3 separate regions of the Homo sapiens genome follow, and all the other regions are linked to region 1. The links are contacts of gene promoters, found by promoter capture Hi-C in blood cells and fetal thymus (Javierre and others, 2016). All regions are on one chromosome and are shown on one strand. Each heading gives the region's core, a stretch centred on a gene start or on the middle of the fragment in contact. The rest is flanking DNA. Distances are from core to core; before and after follow the strand shown. Region 1 holds the start of GFM1 (G elongation factor mitochondrial 1). Region 2 holds the start of LNP1 (leukemia NUP98 fusion partner 1). Region 3 overlaps POGLUT1 (protein O-glucosyltransferase 1).

Evidence for each region. The method cuts DNA at HindIII sites, captures the fragments that hold promoters and counts their contacts. A CHiCAGO score of 5 or more calls a contact.
Region 2: the fragment with the promoter of LNP1 here is called in contact with the fragment with the promoter of GFM1 in region 1 in 1 of 17 cell types (non-activated CD4 T cells); the score reaches 6.1 in non-activated CD4 T cells.
Region 3: a fragment that was not itself captured here is called in contact with the fragment with the promoter of GFM1 in region 1 in 1 of 17 cell types (non-activated CD4 T cells); the score reaches 5.8 in non-activated CD4 T cells.

Annotation. Positions count from the first base shown.
Region 1 is chr3:158,641,684-158,646,400 of GRCh38, forward strand. It overlaps GFM1 (G elongation factor mitochondrial 1), which reads left to right and starts at 2,844. Exons shown (of 18, transcript NM_024996.7): 1 at 2,844-3,032; 2 at 3,946-4,098; 3 at 4,482-4,614. The coding sequence starts at 2,952. The HindIII fragment of the contact is 2,960 bases long and covers 482-3,441 here.
Region 2 is chr3:100,399,497-100,404,213 of GRCh38, forward strand. LNP1 (leukemia NUP98 fusion partner 1) reads left to right here and starts at 2,043. Exons shown (of 4, transcript NM_001085451.2): 1 at 2,043-2,943. It overlaps TOMM70 (translocase of outer mitochondrial membrane 70), which reads right to left and starts at 1,593. Exons shown (of 12, transcript NM_014820.5): 1 at 1,130-1,593. The coding sequence starts at 1,453. RefSeq lists enhancers at 11-930, 1,612-1,721, 1,772-1,821, 1,832-1,921 and silencers at 1,292-1,371, 1,982-2,061. The HindIII fragment of the contact is 4,606 bases long and covers 1-3,891 here.
Region 3 is chr3:119,491,607-119,496,323 of GRCh38, forward strand. POGLUT1 (protein O-glucosyltransferase 1) reads left to right here. Exons shown (of 11, transcript NM_152305.3): 11 at 676-3,102. The coding sequence ends at 832. Among named protein-coding and RNA genes, the nearest start is that of TIMMDC1, 4.6 kb to the right of the region's middle. The HindIII fragment of the contact is 3,644 bases long and covers 905-4,548 here.

The sequences.
Region 1 (4,717 bases), core at 1,594-4,093:
TTTTCTTTTGAAAAACTCCAAAGGCTTCTCTTTTTATGTAGGGTGCTTGGTCTCCATGTGGCGAAGCAGTTTTGAAGGTTTCATGGGTTTGTTGGATAGCCGCTTGCCACATATTATATAAAGCAGGCTTGGAGAATGTGAATCACCTGTTGCAGTGAACCTGCAATTTAAGTAGGACTCTAGGTATTTTCTTTCACATGCAGCTTTCCTTTTATTAGCAGTCTTAGAGTTTTCCATTTTCTCATCATTGGGTCTTTCCCCATTTTCAAAGAAGCTCTCCAGTGACATTTGTTTTTTACTCGTTTTGGCTAGAGTTAGGTTGTGGGCTTACCAAAACTGTGACTGAGGCAAGTGCTCAGTGTGGGAAGGAAGCGCGGACGGAAGTGGTAAATAAAATAATGGGCGGGCCACGCAAGACTTTAAAGCCTGCCATCAGATGCAACTGTACAACTGAAATACATCAACTCACTTGCCACTATAAAGCTTGCCACCAGTGCAGCTTTTGTCACTTGACACTCACTGACAGGGTTTTGATATGAATCTGCAAGCAATTGATTTATTATGGTCTCTGTGCAGTCAAACCTCTTTGCTAATGTTAATCTGTATTTGCAGCTGTTCCCCAGCCCTAGCGGCCACACCTTAGCTCCACCTCAGGTCATCAGGCATTAGATTCTCATAAGGAGTGCGTAACCCAGATCCCTTGAATGGATAGTTCACAAGGGGGTTCACACTCCCATGAGAATCTAATGCCACTGCTAATCTGACAGGAGGCAGAGCTCAGGTGGTAATACAAGTGATAAGGAGAGGGTGTAAATACAGATGAAACTTCACTCGCTCGCCCACTGCTTACCTCCTACTGTGTGGCCTGGTTCCTAACAGGCCATGGACTGATACTGGTCTCTGGCCCAGAGGTTGGGGACTCCTGTGTTAGAACATGTAGATGCCAAGTACCTGTGCCAACCACAGGTCCACCTTTGCATACTTGACCTTACCAGTATTTTATGAATATATATGTACAGCTCCCATGTTACCAGTGAAGGGTCTTGACTATGAGTCATACAGGTTCTTGGCGTTTGAACAAAGAATTGGACAAAACACATAAGCAAAGCAATGAAAGAATGGAGCAATGAAGGCACAGATGTGTTGAAACAAAAGTACACTCCACAGCTCAAGAGCACCTGTTACAGAATTTTCTGGGATTTAAATACCCTCTAGAGCGTTCCCATTGGTTACACCCTATGTAAATGAAGGAGTGGCCCATAACCAGCCTGCTTGGTTGCAGGAGGTGACCAATCAGAGGCTGAAGTGAAGTTACAAAGTTACACATGAGGACTTGGCCTGCTACCAGTCTGATTATTTGCCAGAGGGGACCAGTCAGAGGTACTTTCCATTTTTTCATCTGCAATGCAGTGCATTGGGAGTAGCCTCCGATCCTTTTGTTACTTGGGCATGGAGAGGTGGGGTTTTCCTTTTGGTTCAGCTCTAGGAAGTCAGCAGGGCCTTCGGTTCCCTGTCTCTAGACCCTGTTCTCCTGCCTCACCCATAAAGGGAATTCCCTAGAGATACTAAAGGCTGTCTGTCTCTCTTCTGAGCAGCCCACTCTGCCTCTCAGAGTGTACTTTTGGTTTACAATAAACTTTTTTGCCTACTCTTACTTTGTACTTGCTTTCAAATTCTTTTGTGTGGTGAAGTCAAGCACCTGAACCGGCCCACTGACAACAGCAAGGATAGAAGCAGTGAGATCGGTTACAAGGCTATTACAATAGTTCCCTCCAGAAACGGCAGTACTGAGAGGTGGGGAGAAGTAAGTTCTGGATTTTCTTTTTTTTTTTTTTTTTTTGAGACTCGCTCTGTCACCCAGGGTGGAGTGCAGTGGCGTGATCTCGGCTCACTGCAAGCTCCGCCTCCTGGGTTCACACCATTCTCCTGCCTCAGCCTCCCGAGTAGCTGGGACTACAGGCGCCCGCCACCGCGCCCGGCTAATTTTTTTTTGTATTTTTAGTAGAGACGGGGTTTCACTGTGTTAGCCAGGATGGTCTCCATCTCATGACCTCGTGATCTGCCCGCCTCGGCCTTCCAAAGTGCTGGGACTACAGGTGTGAGCCACCGCGTCCGGCCCTGGATGTCTTTTTGAAAGTAGAGCTTACAGGATATGCTGACTGATTAGACCGGAGATGTCACAGCATGGTGTCAAAGCGACTAATATTTTTGGCTAGAATCACTAAAGTTTACATTTATGAGATGGATAAGACTGTGGAAGGTTTGGGGAAGAAGATCCGAAGCTCAGTTTTGGACCTGTTAGGTTCAACATGCCTCTTAACACATCCAAGCAGAATGGTCAAGGATGCAGTCTTCCACATGGACAGGACATGAAATGTCTGACATCGAACAATAACAAATAACATTTTGACATGAGGAAAAGTATTTGTAATTGTAATTGATAGTTCATTCACTATAATTTGTCCACGTTCTTTTTCAGGCCATGTCATATATATACCTATTAATATTTGTAATAGACAATTTTGCTCTTTTCTACTTAAATTGTTATATACATTTCTCCACATTGCTTTATAGGCCTAACAACCATGTTTAAATTCTGTATCTTCATACAGAGGTAATATTTAAAAAAGAAGACGAAGACAAAAGGACTCCCTTCCCTCACCCATATACCTATGCCGTCTTACTGGGAGCAAACACTTCTTTAGCTCCGCAAAGCGATTGCACTTTCTCTTCCAAGTCGGCAGACGGCGCGCGAGCAGCGTAGGCACTGCTCCGCCTCCAATCCAGTTGCTCTTCTTTCTTTTCCTCACTCTCTTTTTCCTCGCGTCCTTTGCCCCGGAAGTGCTCTTACAACATTGGCTGCCGGCGTGACTTTGACCGCTTCCCGGTGCGTTACCGGCAGCTGAACCCACCCGGCGCCACGGGACTTTGACGCGTGCTCTGCGCTTGCCATGAGACTCCTGGGAGCTGCAGCCGTCGCGGCTCTGGGGCGCGGAAGGGCCCCCGCCTCCCTAGGCTGGCAGAGGAAGCAGGTACCGGAGCATAGAGAGGCTAAATCGGGACCATTCCCGGAACCTTGTGATCCCTTCTGGGCAATGGAAGGCCGTGACACCCCCTGGGTCCTCATGACTGACAGCTCCGAATACTGGCAGTCGCTCGTCAGTGCTGAAAAGCACCTCGGTGCCTGCACATTAGCTCGTTAGCTCGTTTGTTTCGCTCTCTGGTATCCCTAGGGTTTAATCAACTAAAAGTGTCTGTCACTCAGATACTTTGATATTTTATCCACCTTTTCTAAGGTTTTTTTTTTTTTTTTTTGCCTCTCTTTTCCCGTGAATAATTGTGCATTTTGGATGTGCAGTCCTATAGGGAAAGGTTTATATTGTATCTTCATTCCATCTAATAGGGATCCCCATCCCCTGCCACCAGAGTAAAGTTAAAACAAGCTTCATGAATTGTTTTTGTTTGGAGGGAATTGGAAATCTTTGGGGGCTGTCTTGGAGCTACTAGCATCACTGCATAGAGCATATAAGTTCTCAAACATATTTGTCATCTGTGAACTACAATAAAGGAGAAAGGGAAAAAAATTAAGTTAAATTTAAGCTAAAATTTGTATTTTCTATTAAAGTATTTTTTGGAGCTGTCTTTGTGATTTTATCTGCCCCAGTGTGTATTTTCAAATCTGCAGTAAAAAGTGTCTCCCATTTTAATTAAATTTAACTTATTCATTAATTAATTTTAAAAGAATACGTCTTTACTGTCTTGTTTTGAAGTCTGTCCTCTGATTACAAGAGTTCCAGGCTTAAAGGTTTCCCCTGGTGCCTTTCTCAAGCTATCTCATATCCAGTGAGATTTCTTGGAGGAATAATGTCCACCATACTCCTTTTAATTGTCTGTTGTTCTCTCTTATAAAAGGTGCATAGAATTGAGCTCTCGTATTTTTTTCAGGTTAATTGGAAGGCCTGCCGATGGTCTTCATCAGGGGTGATTCCTAATGAAAAAATACGAAATATTGGAATCTCAGCTCACATTGATTCTGGGAAAACTACATTAACAGAACGAGTCCTTTACTACACTGGCAGAATTGCAAAGATGCATGAGGTATATATTCACGGTTGATTCCGGATTAATTAGAACCAGATTTTAATTGTTTTGTTGCTATTATTTAATAAAGCTTATAAACCTGAAAGATTAAAACAATGGTAACAGCGGACTTTTGACAGTTAGGCTTATCTGAAAGTTGCTTAAGTTAAGTATCTGTGTTCTGGTTTTATTTTTATTTTTTATAGAAGAGGTCTCACTTTGTTGCTCAGGCTGGTCTCAAACTCTTGGGCTCAAATTATCATCCTGCCTCAGTCTCCCACAGTGCTGGGATTATAGGCATGAGCCACTGCACCTGGCAACTGTTTCCATTTCAGTTAAGATTTCTTTCCTTCTTGGAATGCAGGGACAGAGAAAGTCTGAATTGCTGTGCTTGTGTTTAGGTGAAAGGTAAAGATGGAGTTGGTGCTGTCATGGATTCCATGGAACTAGAGAGACAAAGAGGAATCACTATTCAGTCAGCAGCCACTTACACCATGTGGAAAGATGTCAATATTAACATTATAGATACTCCTGGTGAGTTGGATTCTTGGTTTTATTGCAGCTTCTTTGGCAAAAGCACATTTGGTTCTTTCTCTTACTGTGACCCAATTAGTTTTTGATTGTCAAATACTCAAAA
Region 2 (4,717 bases), core at 793-3,292, about 58 Mb before region 1:
ATCCCAGTATTGTCAAATGCAGCCAGACTAATTCTCTGCACAGCTGTCAGATACCAAAAGGATTTAACAGTCAGTTCACCAAAACCATACAAAGCAGTTCACTAAATAATCCAATGCTTGGCCTCACATCAGAGAAACTGTATCATGCATATTAGGCTTGGTCATGTACATTTCCAGGTGAAATGGAAAAACTGAATTTAAGATGCTTCCAATCAAAAAGTTTAAGAAGTCACTCCCATTTTTTTTTTTTTTTTTTTTGTATGTGTGTGTAGGCCTGGACCTGGGGCAGGGGGCTGTGTGCAACCAAGCCTGGTGAGCATTGCTGTGGCCGCTACTCTTGTGCAGCAAGAGGGGACAGTGCAGTGCAGAGCGTTTTCTGACAAAGGCCAAGGGGTCCGGAGTGCAAAAGGACACCTTGGGGCTGGGGCATGGCAGGAGAGGTTACGGGCGCTGAGTGCTTGCAGCCAAGGGGGCTTCGGGGTTGCTGAGAGAGGACGAGCCTTGGGAGCTTGACAGTTCTGCTTACAGTTCAGAGGCTGTAAAACAAATGCCACTGAACACCATTTCACTCTTTAGAACCTGTGTAGTCTTTCTTTTTCTATGTAGAAAGCCATCTAATCGTTTTTGTTTTTGTTTTGCTTTTGTCAACTAACCGTCACTGTAGTTGCCCACTTACCCCCAGCAAAAACACACTCCAAAAGGGGGAGTGGCTCATTATTAAAAGGCTCTTAGCGATTAGGTTGTAGGCTTTGGAAATCACAGAAACAGTTCGTATCACGATGTACCAATTGTTAATCGAATTTAGCTTCCTTCACTTATTAAATACAATCATCACATTTGCAAATGCCCCACTCCCATCTACAACACTAGGGATAAATGCTGTGTCACTGAGAAGAAAAGCAAAGGATTTTTCTGAAACCAAAAGCAAACTGTCAAAGAATGCCAGTAACCTGTCATCGAGCTACTCTATGCCCTCCACTGGCAGCCAGAAATGAGTCTCCCTAAACCCAAGTGTTGTGCTGCCGCTTGGCAGCTTCCGTCTGATGGGAAGCCCCCTCACTGACACAACCCGCCAAGGAAAAGCTGCACGAGCCAGTTTCCTCCTCTACGGCCTGGGGCTGCTTCTCACCATGTCCAAGTGAGCACCGGGACCTTCAGGGTGTCCGCTGCCCGGGGCCGGACTGGCCCTGCCCTCCGGGGTCTTCCGTTCGCTGTTGCGCTTCAGGCCGCTGGCGTCGCCCCGGCCTCTGGCCTCCCGGCGCCGTTGCTGCCGACTCCACAGGTATATGGCACCCGCGCCCAGCAGCAGGGGTGCCCCGACCGCCAGAGCCAGCTGCCATCGCGGCAGCCCCCCCGTGCCCGGGCCCGCAGTCCCGCCGCCGCCCACCCCACTCCCGGAGCTCGGTACAGCGGCTGCGACCACCGCTGCCTCCACAGGTTTAGAGGCGGCCATGACAAGTGTCCTCTGCCACCGCCTCCCTGTCTGTCGCGAGCGCCACAATCACCAAACAGCGTGCGAAGGAAGACCGAGGGAGGGAAGGAAAGCAATGAGCGAGCGAGCACGCTAGGCAGAGAGAGCGGACGACAGAAAAGGGCCAGAGGTCACCGGAAGCCCAGGGCATGCCGGGCCAGACCTGGCCGTCCTTCTCCTCCAGTATCAACCGAAGAGGGAGAGGAGGGGCGGAAATCACTTCCGGGTTAAGGGAAAGCGTGGGTGTGAGTAGGAGTCTTCGGAAACCCTTTTTCTTTCTTTTCGCCCCGCTGCTGTTCGGGAGATGGACTTCTGGAGTCCCCGTCGTAGCTGGTGTTGTCCCCTCTACCTTCAGGAAAGAAGGGCAGATGGCCCTCTTGCCTACTGAAGCCGAGGAGGGGCGCGTATACAGCGGGCTAAGGGCGCTCAAGAGATCCGAGTGGAAGAAAAAGCAGCGGCACAGCACTGGAATGGGCGGGAGTGGCAGAAGAGTTGTGAAGGCTATTGGCTAGCAAGGGTGGTGGGCGGGGCGTAGACCGAGCTACCCAGTTTACTGGTCGATTTCGGATCCAGTTTTCCAGTTATAGCCACGTTGGCACCTCTTGAACCTCTGTGGCCGTTAGCACGGTTTTCTGCCCGCGTGCCCGAGAAACCAACGGATTAGAAGGACTTTTAAAGATGTGTGAGGAAAGAGCTCACCGCTGAAGAAGGCTGCTGCATCACTGAACTTCTTATCACTAACATAGCGAGATTTTAGTTTGGACGAATTTGAGGTTATAGGGGAGATAGCGATGGCAGAAGACTAGGTGGAAATGGCACATCTAGGTTGGCTGCAGTCGAAACGGTTTGAGCGTGGTCGCTGTGGCTCATCGTCGGCACCAATTAACGAAGCGATGACATCTGCGTTGTTAGGGGTTTCTTAAACTGAGTTGGTAGAAATGCGAAGCGTCAGGGTTCCCGCCGGCTTCGAGCCTTTCTTGGCGTATTTGTATCTTGAGCTGATTTCTGCGTCAGCCCACATCTCGCTCTGATCCGCACGCCCCCCGGGTTGTTTTGCAGTAGCAGTCTCAGCCCTCTTCTCGTCTCATTCCCAAATCGTAATTTCAGTTCACAGCTTTTTATCTATAATAGCTTTATCAACTCTTTTTCCGATGCTCTGCACCAGATCTCTTAAAATATAAAATTACCTTGCAAGGTATTGTTTGGAATACACGGTATTTTCATGAAGACAACTATTAATAGAAAAATCAGAGTCCAGAACTATGGTTCTCCATTTCTGGTATACTGGTTTGCAGAAGCCTTACATTAAGATTTCATAAATGATTGTTTTGCTGTTAAGTGCAACAACATCACAGTAGAGCTACATAAAGATTGAAAGGAGATATTTTATCAAGTGGCACCAGAATGGACTGATTAAAATAGAATGGCCTAATTGGAAAGAATTTCAGGATCACCGGTTTCTCCTGCTTCATGTAAGTTCCTATTAGTAAATTGCCTTCAGGCAATAGGGTTTCTTAGCAACAGACTAAAAAAATGGGCTAAAAATAGCAGTGGAATTGAGTTGATCGTTGCAGGCAATAGGCTTTTCTCCCCTCCTGATCCCCCAATCCCCAAAGGCAAATTTTCTGCCCCTTAATATAAGCTCTGCCTTGCCTTTTTCAGAACACAAGTTAGGATTTTTTTTTTTTTCTGAAATTTCAGTTTTGCTGTGGCCTCTTGGAGGATTGTAGAGTGCTAACAATTACAAACTTGATAGGAACTAAAACATATTTGAAGTTTTTTTTTTAAACCTTTTTCTTATTTATTGGAGTAAGCAATACACTGTTACGGTTAAACTCCAAAAGTTACAGAGTTTACTGTGAAAAGTCTTCCTTCAGTCCCTGTCCTCAGCTGCACAGTTCCCCTCTCCAAAGGGAATCGGTGTTATTTTCTTGAAACATTTTTTGGATTAATATTTATCTAAAGGCCTGATTTTGTTTGGCTTTATTTTTAAGGTTGGCATTAGTAAACGAATCTGTTCTGGTTACTTTTATACTTTGATAAACATCTCATTTCCATTCTCTAGCCTATGCTATTCTCTCATTTTCTCCTCCATTTCCTAATTGATGGTACTGTAGAGCCAAATAGAGTGTCGCTTACTGGCTTTGGGACCTTACTGATCTGATGCATGTTTTTCTAATCTGTGAAATGGTGAAAACATCTACCTCTCAGGCTATAGTAAAGATTTAATTAGAGAATATTTAAAGTTCTTTTGATGTTTGTTACAAAGCAATAGATATTTGATGATTAGTTCTCAGTTTTTCTAAATTTTAAAGTAAAGAAGTAAAATACTGCCTTTCATTTCTAAAAAATTAAAGTTCTGTATATGTGAACATAGACATTATCTTTTTCTTGGTAGATTAGTGGAACTCAACTGAAGAAGCTTTCTTCACCTTTGATCTGTATCTTAGGAGGCAGTTAAATGAGATAGTCTAATGGACTAGGTTGTGGAAGACCTGAGTTTTTTTTTTTTTTGAGATGGAGTTTCGCTCTTGTTGCCCAGGCTGGAGTGCAATGGCGCCATCTTGGCTCACTGCAGCCTCTGCCTGCAGGCTTCAAGCAATTCTCCTCCCTCAGCGTCCCAGTAGCTGGGATTATAGGCGGCTGCTACCATGCCAGGCTAATTTTTTGTATATTGGCCAAGCTGGTCTTGAACTCCTGACCTCAGGTGATCTACCTGCCTCGGCCTCCCAAAGTGCTGGGAATACAGGCATAAGCCACCATGCCCAGCTGACCTGAATTCTTATTCTAAATTTTAATACCACTGAGTTGTGTGTGTGACCATGGGCAACTCTGCTTTCTTTATAATGTGAGGAGGGGTGGATTAGATTATTTTTAAGGCTCCTTATTGTTTTAAAATGATGTAATTCTGTCCCTTCAATTGTCATTGCTACATGAAAGGCCTTTCAGATTGCTAGAGTTGGTAAATAGCTGGTTGACTGGTGTCCAAACCTTCCAGCCAGTGCACAAATCTGCTTATATTAAGCATGTACATATAGAACAGCTCTATTCTCTTTCAGCTGTCTGATGTTTTCATTCTGTTTTTCCTTACTGAAAAATTACTGAAAAGAATTGTCTACATCTGTTACTTATTTGGCACCCATTTCATCCAAAATCTGTTGTAATCTAGTTTACAACTTTATAATTAGGCTGAAAGTGCTTTAGAAGTCATAAAATTCATTGTGGTTTTTTTGTGGGTGGGGGAGG
Region 3 (4,717 bases), core at 1,477-3,976, about 39 Mb before region 1:
ACTTTTTGTCATCCCCATTATGCCCTAGCCAAAGTTATCTGAATATTGTTATCATGGTGACATCTGTATTTTATCCTCATTATATGGAGATAATTCAGAACTAAACCTGTCCTGGGGGAAAACATACACACATGTCTACATATGCTTGTTTTAAAGGAAAAAGATGGGCCGGGCGTGGTGGCTAACGCCTGTAATCCCAGCACTCTGGAAGGCCGAGGTGGGCGGATCACCTGAGGTCAGAAGTTCAAGACCAGCCTAGCCATGGTGAAACCCCATCTCTACTAGAAATACAAAAAAATTAGCCGGGTGTGGTGGTGCGTGCCTGTAATCCCAGCTACTCGGGAGGCTGAGGCAGGAGAATCACTTGAACCCGGGAGGCGGAGGTTGCAGTGAGCCAAGATCGCACCATTGCGCTCCAGCATGAGCAACAAGAGCGAAACTCCGTCTCAAAAAATAAATAAATAAATAAATAAATAAAGGAAAAAGATTGTTAAGTTGTATTGCTACATGCATGTATGTGGATATGATTGCCATAGGGTTGGTTCTTGAGGCTCAAATGAATTAATTTATATAAAATGCTGAATAATGCTTGGCACAAGGTGAGCACTCAAATGCAGACTGCTATTATCATTAAATTCTGTGCTTTAACATTTTCTTGTTAAATCTTGTCTCTAGGGGAAGCCAGTTTATTAGGAACCATTTGCAGATGGATGACATCACCTGTTACTGGGAGAACCTCTTGAGTGAATACTCTAAATTCCTGTCTTATAATGTAACGAGAAGGAAAGGTTATGATCAAATTATTCCCAAAATGTTGAAAACTGAACTATAGTAGTCATCATAGGACCATAGTCCTCTTTGTGGCAACAGATCTCAGATATCCTACGGTGAGAAGCTTACCATAAGCTTGGCACCTATACCTTGAATATCTGCTATCAAGCCAAATACCTGGTTTTCCTTATCATGCTGCACCCAGAGCAACTCTTGAGAAAGATTTAAAATGTGTCTAATACACTGATATGAAGCAGTTCAACTTTTTGGATGAATAAGGACCAGAAATCGTGAGATGTGGATTTTGAACCCAACTCTACCTTTCATTTTCTTAAGACCAATCACAGCTTGTGCCTCAGATCATCCACCTGTGTGAGTCCATCACTGTGAAATTGACTGTGTCCATGTGATGATGCCCTTTGTCCCATTATTTGGAGCAGAAAATTCGTCATTTGGAAGTAGTACAACTCATTGCTGGAATTGTGAAATTATTCAAGGCGTGATCTCTGTCACTTTATTTTAATGTAGGAAACCCTATGGGGTTTATGAAAAATACTTGGGGATCATTCTCTGAATGGTCTAAGGAAGCGGTAGCCATGCCATGCAATGATGTAGGAGTTCTCTTTTGTAAAACCATAAACTGTGTTACTCAGGAGGTTTCTATAATGCCACATAGAAAGAGGCCAATTGCATGAGTAATTATTGCAATTGGATTTCAGGTTCCCTTTTTGTGCCTTCATGCCCTACTTCTTAATGCCTCTCTAAAGCCAAAAAAAAAAAAAAAGACAAAGCCTCTTAATAAATTTAATGGAACTATACATAGAACAGCAGCTCTTCCTCACCCTTTGCATACCTTTAATATTTTTCCTTCTTAAATTGGCCACAGCAGGGGTCATTCACACTCTCACTGTCTTGCAGGAATCACAAGAAGTCTTCATATGTGAACGTGCCATTCAGTTGGTAGTTAAGAGCATTCAACTTCAAATATATAGAAGATATTTGTTTTAGTGCAAATCCATGATGGAGTGCCTCCCTTTTCCTTTTTTCACTTTTTGAAAAAGATGTTTTGGGTAGTAGTTTAATATCTCAGGGTGCTCTTTCTAACATAGTAAAAAATGAAGAAAAATGTTTAGATTAAAACTCTGTAGTCTGATGACTTAGAACCATCCTTGACCCTTAGGCCCAACCTTTCCACAGAGAAATCACCTCTCTTCCTTTGTCTTTTAAGAACTATTTGGTATTAACTAGTTTCAGAATTAGTAAATGTGAGATTCAGTCACATAATTATCAGACATTCCATTTGTCAGAAATGTATTTGGCTTTTTAAACTCCTTTCCACAAAAGTTTAAGTCTAATGACCTTCTTAGAGAAGTTGAGCATGCCTGGCAAGATCATTTCATGGAATAAGCAGATGTTTAAAGTTGGATTTTTTTTTTTTTTTTTTTTTGAGTACTAGCAATGCACAGGGACCGTGTTCTTAGGTTCTTAGTCTGTGAATCTAGCAATAGGCAGTCCAGATTTCTGAGTCGTACTATGGTTTTGCCTTGTCACTGTGAGGCCCTACTAGGTGTAAGCATTCTCTCTGAATTTTAATTTCCTCTCATTAAAATAGGAACAAAATTTGCTATCCTTTAGATTAGGAGCTGAAGATTCATTTCCCTGGGAATGTTTCCCATTTAGCTTCAAGTTTCAGCTCAAACATCACCTTCTTTCTGACTCCTTTCATTCATTCCTCCAGGCAGTAAGGGGCTACCATAGTACTTTGTTTATGCCTGTATTATATGACATCACTGTAGTTGCTTGACTGTTTCTCCTACTGTTCTGTAAACTTATTAATGGGTGAGAATCTAATTTTACTCATCTTGATGGCTTCATGATCCAGCACAGTGCCTCACACAAAGAACTATTGGGTGGGTGGATGGATGGATGGAGGAATGGAGACAGTTGGCTTAACCAGATCCTATATACAGATTATTACTGGCTCCAAAGGATGAGTAGATAAGACCATAAGAATTGGATCAATGTAAATCCTCACCTGCCCTTTGAAGAGCCAATAAGGGCATCTTTGTCTTTAAATACAGCAAATGTTATTCAGATTTTGTACTTGTCTATCTGTTTACCTCAGTGTAGATGATATGAGGATGGTATAACTATGTAAATTGTTTTTGAAAATAATTTGTTTCCCCACAACTTTTGAAGGTTTTATTTGTTGTTGTTATTACTAGTTCAGTCCCAAACTTACCCTTTCCTTTTCAGAGAGCTAATGGCCATGCTTTTCTTCAAGGAAAGAATAATTTATTTGAATGAAGTGGGATACTTGCATAACACAAATAATGCTTTGTCTTTATTTATTTCGGGAGTGTTATCTATGTGCTGTCAGTGACCCACCTTATTCTACTATATCAGTTCAGATTTTCCTAGTGGTCAAGAACAGAAACTGCCTCTAGCTAGTTTAAGCAAAGTAACTTACTAGAAGGACATGAGGGCATCTCGTGGAATCTAAAAAGGTTTCACAGTGGTTAGAAGGATAGAAGCAAGGGCACCTCCAGGAATCTCAGCAAGAATTTTGACTGTTTCCAGGGTGCTACTATAATGCAGTTCCATTACCTATTGGGCTCTGTCTCAGCTCAAAATTCCCAAGGACAAAAACTTTAATGGACTCATTTGGGTCACCTCCAAGAGTTCCCTACACTTAACCCCTAGACTGACTACAAACAAGAGCACAAACAGGCCAGACACAGTGGTTCACACCTGTAATCCCAGCTCTTTGGGAGGCCAAGGCAGAAGAATCACTTGAGCCCAGGAGTTCAAGACCAGCCTGGGCAACATGGTGAGACCTCGGCTCTACAAAAAAAAAAAAAAAAAAAAAAAAAAAAAAAAAAAAAGAGGCAGGAAGATAGCTTGAGTTCGCAATGTTGAGGCTGCAGTGAGCCATGATCATGCCACTGTACTGTACTTCCACCTGGGCAATGGGAATAAGACCCTGTTTCTCAAAAAAAAAAAAAAAAAAAGCACAGATACACAAAAGTCTATCTTTACATGCATCTAAAGATGCCCTCTCTTAGGATAATCTTACTGCATCCAGAGGTAAGGTGTTGTGGATGGAGCAGAGAGTTATATTTACAAGTCACTCATTTAATACTTACCAGATACTTCTTAAGCATCTACTATGCACAGAGACAAGGAAAGTTTACAAGAGGCTCCCAAACCTCAAGGGGCTGTGCCGTTGAGATGATAAACAATATGAGAGGCATCATACATACGTGGAAGGTGATTAAGGCAACAGGAGTGCCAATTATTCATGAAGACAATGTGGATCTGGAGTTTAGAGGAAGAATAAACTTCCAACTGGAGCAGATGGGAAACTTTGTGGAGGTAAAAATTAATTTATACCATGAAGGATAAGTAAATGAAATGGTTCTTGGAGTTCTCAAAATTCATTCTCTCTCCACATGTTGAAAAGTTTTATATCATATATAATGTAACAAAATGTAAAATACGTAGCAAGGGCAGTACTTGGTGAACCTGGCAGGGAAGGGAACCTGCTGACCCCTGAGAAAAAAATTCACTGTGAGGGAAGAAACTATTAGGTTCTATAAACAGAATTCAGCAACAAGGGCTGTTGGTGGAAGAATGGTGTTCCAGGCAGTATGGTGATTGCACTGAAATCTTTCCCTGATGCAGTTACTCTGCTGGCAAACACATGTCCTGGGGACAAGAAAGCCATATGTGAAACAGTGGTCCAGTAAACCCCATAACACCTTTTGGCTTAGACCAAGCTTGTCCAACCCATGGCTCACGAACTGCACGCGGCCCAGGAAAGCTTTGAATGCGCCCCAACACAAATTTGTAAACGTTCTTAAAACATGAGATTTATGCATGGACTTTTTTCTTTTTCTTTTCTTTTTGTTTTTTGTTTTTAGCTCATCAGCTACAGTTAGTGTTA